Regions from separate parts of the Homo sapiens genome. Here region 2 is linked to region 1. The links are contacts of gene promoters, found by promoter capture Hi-C in blood cells and fetal thymus (Javierre and others, 2016). All regions are on one chromosome and are shown on one strand. The core of a region is centred on a gene start or on the middle of the fragment in contact, and the rest is flanking DNA. Distances in the headings are between cores, read along the strand shown. Region 1 holds the start of TIFA (TRAF interacting protein with forkhead associated domain). Region 2 overlaps ZGRF1 (zinc finger GRF-type containing 1).

Region 1 (2,794 bases), core at 256-2,755:
GCCTGAGCTCTGTTTCCTGTCAGATCACTGGGGCATTAGATTCTTATAGGAGCAGGAACCCTGCACATGGGAGGGATCTAGGTTGCCCGCTTCTTATGAGAATCTAATGCCTGATGATCTGTCACTGTCTCCCATCACCCCCAAATGTGTCCGTCTAGTTGCATGAAAACAAGCTCAGGACTTCCACTGATTCGACATTATGGTGAGTTGTATAATTATCTCATTATATATTACAATGCAATAATAATAGAAATAAAGTGCACAATAAATGAAATGGGCTTGAATCATCCTGAAACCATCTCCCGTGGCCCCAACCCCAGTCTGTGGAAAAAGTCTTCCATGACACTGGTTCCCAACAGGGATTGCTGGTCTCTACAGTGTCTATCCTCTCTCTCTCTTTTTCTTTAAACAGAGTCTCACTCTGTTGCCCAGACTGGCGTGCAATGGCGCCATCCCGGCCTCACTGCAACCTCTGCCTCCCGGATTCAAGTGATTCTCCTGCCTCAGCCTCCCGAGTAGTTGGGATTACAGGCACCCACCACCAAGCCCAACTAACTTTTGTATTTTTAGTAGAGATGGAATTTCGTCATGTTGGCCAGGCTGGTCTCAAACTCCTGGCCTCGTGATCCGCCCACCTCGGCCTCCCAAAGTGCTGGGATTACAGGTTTGAGCCACGGCACCCGGGTCTATCCTCTCTTGACACCTACTCTCCTTAGGTTCTTCACACTTAGGTGATTCCAAATCTTTTCACTGAGGCAGAAAGGTAGCATTACCTTCTTCTAAGCTATAAAGGACTCCTGAGAGGTGTTTCCCATTTCATCATGTACCAGCTTTTACTTGTGGACTCTGGATGTCCATTACGATGCAAGCGGCAGGAGAGAAAGCGACTGGACTGCTCTGCTGGGTGTAAGGCGAGGGCAACCTGGAGCAAGTTCAAATCCCGCCTCTGCGGGAGGCAGAGGTTGCAGTGAGCCGAGATGGCGCCACTGCACTCCAGCATGGGCGACACGGTGAGACTCGTCTCAAAAAAAGAAAAAAAGAAAAAAAAAATTCCACTTCTGCTCGCCACACTCCACCATTCTCTGAGCCTCGGTTTACTCATGTGTAAGGGGGACTGCGATGATTAGAGGAGCTCGTGCATGCCACGCACTGGCTTGCTTGGTATCCTTGGAGTCACCGAAAGATTAGTTCAGCTCCCCGCCTGCCCACGCCCTGGGGCAACACTCATTTTGGGGAAAAGTCCTCCTTAATGCTGAAGTGATCCAGTTCCCTTCTTTTCTCTAGCTCGCCAATCGGGCTGGAGGAGAGGCCACTCGTTTGGGAAGGCGCGGTCCGGGTCGGTGTACCGCGCACCAAACCCTGCCAGAGAACTGAGAGAGGCGGCCAGGGGGCTGGGTACCTGGTGAGAAAGGCGCCAGCTGCCGGGTCACCTCGAGAGGAAGGAAGGGGCGGGAGCGCGAGTGGAGCGGGCGGAGCCTGAAAACCTCCGCGCCACCGCTGCGCTCTTTACAAAGGCCCCGGGCGCGAGAGGACGTGCTCTGCCAGCCAGTGGGAAGGCAGGCCGCGCGCGCGGGAGCGCGGGAGGATCGGCGGCTCGCGGTCACTGGTCCCTGGCTCGGTTCCCCGCACCCCGGGGCTCACACTTACCCGCGCGGAGGAGCAGCGGCCGGGTGTCCACCCCCATCCTGCGCCCAGTCTCCTCGATTCCCCTCGCTCTGAGCCGGGAGAGCCGAACAGCTGAAGAGAGTTCACTGACTCCCCAGCCCCAGGTACTTGCGGGGCGGCGGGCTGGGGGTGAGGTGGGGACTGGCCCTTTTCTGTTTATCCCGCAAAGACAGCAGCTTTGTCCAGGAGATTTTGGGGGTGTCGGATCGGAAGTCATCCCCCGCTGCTCCTGCTCACCTGGCACACGCTCACCATATGCTAAGGAAAGCCTGCAAAAATTATAGACAGCACCTCCCTGTTTTATAAAATATGAGAATATTTACATAAATGAGGAAACATTGGAGATGGGGGTGTGTTTTCTCTGTACTTTGGTATTCTTTTCAACGTTTTTCTAATCAGAAAACAAAAACGAATGCCATTTATGCAGTGTGGCTCCAGAGCAGTTGTGCGTGACCCCCCTCCCCCGCTTGCCAACTGCTACGGCCCCACGCTCTCGGTGGCCAAGCGAGACCTTTCTGAGGGGCCCTGGGCTCCCTGGAGTGCCGAGGTCCTTGGTCCTAGACCTGACTCCTTGCTTCAGTCTGGTTCATGAGAGAAATATAGTAATCCGTTGTTTTCTGGGACTTTCCCCAGATTTCAGATTGAAAGGTGGAATTTCCCAAATCCTCTGAAGCCAAAATCCACACTGAGCCTCACTGCGGATTTCCGCAGCCACCAGGAAGTGGGACTGGACCCCAGGTCAGGCCAGTCAAGTAGAGTGGGAGAAAGAAAATCTCATGTCTGAAAGACACCGAGCTTTCCTAAGGGTTTCCTCCTGCTGTTTGGTTTTCACTTTTTTTTTTTTTTTTTGATTCTTTGTTTTTGCAAGACCTGTGGTTTTAGTATTAATTCTGCCAAACAGCTGTGCCAGAGTTCACAAATATCTTCAGAGCCACACTTCAGGGTGATCCTGTTGAGCAGGGTTAGACAGGAGGATAACTTGGTCCTTTGCTCTGCTTCCAAGTTTCTGTTCCCCTCCTGTGTGCTCAGTGTTCGGTATTCGTTAGGGAGAAAAGCCTTGAAACTTCCTACTTGCAACCACCCAAAGACATACTCTTTCTTGAGAATATATTCAGGGGGAACTGGGGAG
Region 2 (2,700 bases), core at 9-2,508, 320 kb before region 1:
AAGGATCAGCTACTAGTGGTGTAATGGTCAGAGGACACAGCTCACAGCTAGGATGCAGTCAGTTTCCAGATAGCACTGAGTATGAAAACTTTATGACAGAGACACCAGAGTTACCTAGCACGTGTATGCAGATTGACTTCTTGCAGGTAAAAATATTTTTATAGTTGCATTTTGCCAAATCATTTTCTTTATGTTAATACTACATTTTGTGAAAATAGTATAGTTGTTTATACAGTTATAAGTTAAAAAGGAGTACAGTAAATTGACAAGAAGCATAATATCTCAAAACTAAATAACAAAAGTATTTTACTTGAAAGATGTATTACTTTTTTAACATTGGGAGTTTAACAGATTACTTTTCACTTCAGAGAAGACTATAAATTCATGACAAAAGCAAACAGGTACATTACACAAAGAAAATACTCACCTGTTTAACATCTAATAGATTTTTTTTCTTCTGATATTTCCCTTCTCTCTTTAAATATGACACTGAGTACCTCTAGTTGCTACCAAAGGCAGATTTCTGGGGATGAAAATAGAGGTCATGAGGTTAGAATGATAAGCATGTATTTGAAACAGTGTTCATCAAAGAGATTTTTTTTTAAATTTCCCTTTTTGTCAAAGCATAATACATATGAGAAGAAATAAAGAAAAAAAAGCATAATACATATATGAAATAAGTAAATCATCACAAAGCATACTCATATAACCTCCACCTTTAACAAATAGAGCATTCTCAGCATCTCAGAAGCTCTCCTTCTGCCCCTTTTCAATCACTACCCTTTTCACTTTTCCCTAAGATATCCACTGTCTTGACTTATAACCATCTATTAGTTTTGCTTTTAAAACTTTATATAAATAGAATCATACACAGTGTATTCTTTGTGTCTGCCCTCTTTTGTTTAATATTGCAATTCTGAAATTCATTTATGTTGTTGCCTGTGGCTATAATTTATTCATTTTAATTGCTGGTGTAGTATTCTGTTGCATAAATATATCCCAATTTATCCATTCTTCAGATGTTTGTGTTATTTGTGTTAAGGGACTATTACAGATACTGCTGCTGTGAACATTCAAGTACCATCATGAACATGTACATATACACACATGCGTGACATACTTATGTTGGTTATATTACCTAGGAGTAGCATCATTGAGTCACTGGATAGGATATATTTACTTTTAGTACATAATGCAAAACTGATTTCCAAAGTGGTTTTTATAATTTACATTTCCATTAGGAGTGTATGAGAGTGCCCATCACTCTACATCTTTACCAACACTTGATGCTGTTTTTGGTTTTCAGTTTTAGCTATTCTGGTGGGTATATATTGGTACTTCAGTTGTAGTTTTAATTTGCATTTTCCTGCCTGATAGTGAGGTTGGGACCTTTTTTGTATGCCTATTGGCCATCTCTTTATCCTCTTTGATGTAGTGCCTGTTCAGCTTTCTTCCTTTTTTTTTTTGAGACAGAGTTTTGCTCTTGTTGCCCAGACTGGAGTGCAATGGCGTGATCTTGGCTCACTGCAACCTCTGCCTCCTGGGTTCAAGCGATTCTCCTGCCTCAGCCTCCCAAGTAGCTGGGATTACAGGCATGTGCCACTGAGCCCAGCTAATTTGTATTTTTAGTAGAGATGGGGTTTCTCCATGTTGGTCAGGCTGGTCTCGAACTCCTGACCTCAGGTGATCTGCCGGCCTCGTCCTCCCAAAGTGCTGGGATTACAGGCGTGAGCCACCATGCCTGGCCTCTTCCTCATTTTTTAATTGACGTGCTTATCTTTTAAAAAATTTTCTGGAATTCTTTATATAATTTGGATACCTACTCATTGTCAGTTGTATGCTTTGCAAATATCTTTCCTGACCCTTACTTACCTTTTCACTCTTAATGGTATCTTTGATGAATCAAAAATTTTTCTTTTTTTGTTGTTTTTTGAGACAGAGTCTTAACTCTGTCACCCAGGCTGGAGTGCAGTGCATGAACATGGCTCACTGCAGCCTCAACTTCTTGGACTCAAGCAATCCTCCTGCCTCAGACTCTCGAGTAGCTGGGACTACATGTGCCCACCACTATGCCCAGCTAATTTTTTTTTTTTTTTTAGACAAGGTCTTGCTCTGTCACCCAGTCTGGAGTGCAGTGGCGTGATCTCAGCTCACTGAAACCTCTGCCTCCTGGGTTCTAGCAATTCTCCTGCCTCAGCCTCCCGAGTAGCTGGGATTACAGACATGCGCCACCATGCCTGGCTAATTTCTTGTATTTTTAGTATGGTTGCATATACATTTAGAACTAGCTTAACAATTTGCTATGTTGGCCAGGTTGTTCTCAAACTCCTAGCCTCAAGTGATCTGCCTGCCTCGGCCTCCCAAAGTGCTGGGATTACAGGCATGAGCCACTACTCCCGGCTGCCCAGCTAATTTTTAAAATTTTTTTGAGATGTTGTTTCACCAGGTTGCTGCTGGTTTTGAACTCCTGGGCTCAAACGATCTTCCTGCCTCAGCCCCCCAAAGTGTTGGGATTATAGGTGTGAACCACCACGCCTGGCCTAGTTTATCATTTTTTTTTTTTTTTTGAGATGGAGTCTTGCTCTGTTGCCCAGGCTGGAGTGCAGTGGCGTGATTTTGCCTCACTGCAACCTCTGCTGTTGGGGTGATCAGACCCAACACCAGGTTGTAGGGGTGATGAAGTCTGGCAGAGTCAAAGGA

What was found. The method cuts DNA at HindIII sites, captures the fragments that hold promoters and counts their contacts. A CHiCAGO score of 5 or more calls a contact.
Region 2: a contact is called between a fragment that was not itself captured here and the fragment with the promoter of TIFA in region 1, in 1 of 17 cell types (naive B cells). The highest score is 6.2, in naive B cells.

The regions. Positions count from the first base shown.
Region 1 is chr4:112,284,615-112,287,408 of GRCh38, reverse strand. It overlaps TIFA (TRAF interacting protein with forkhead associated domain), which reads left to right and starts at 1,505. Exons shown (of 2, transcript NM_052864.3): 1 at 1,505-1,769. RefSeq lists a silencer at 1,453-1,762 and enhancers at 2,403-2,522, 2,553-2,732. The HindIII fragment of the contact is 2,980 bases long and covers 1-2,794 here.
Region 2 is chr4:112,600,970-112,603,669 of GRCh38, reverse strand. ZGRF1 (zinc finger GRF-type containing 1) reads left to right here. Exons shown (of 28, transcript NM_018392.5): 10 at 1-146. Among named protein-coding and RNA genes, the nearest start is that of ZGRF1, 35 kb to the left of the region's middle. The HindIII fragment of the contact is 4,836 bases long and covers 1-2,700 here.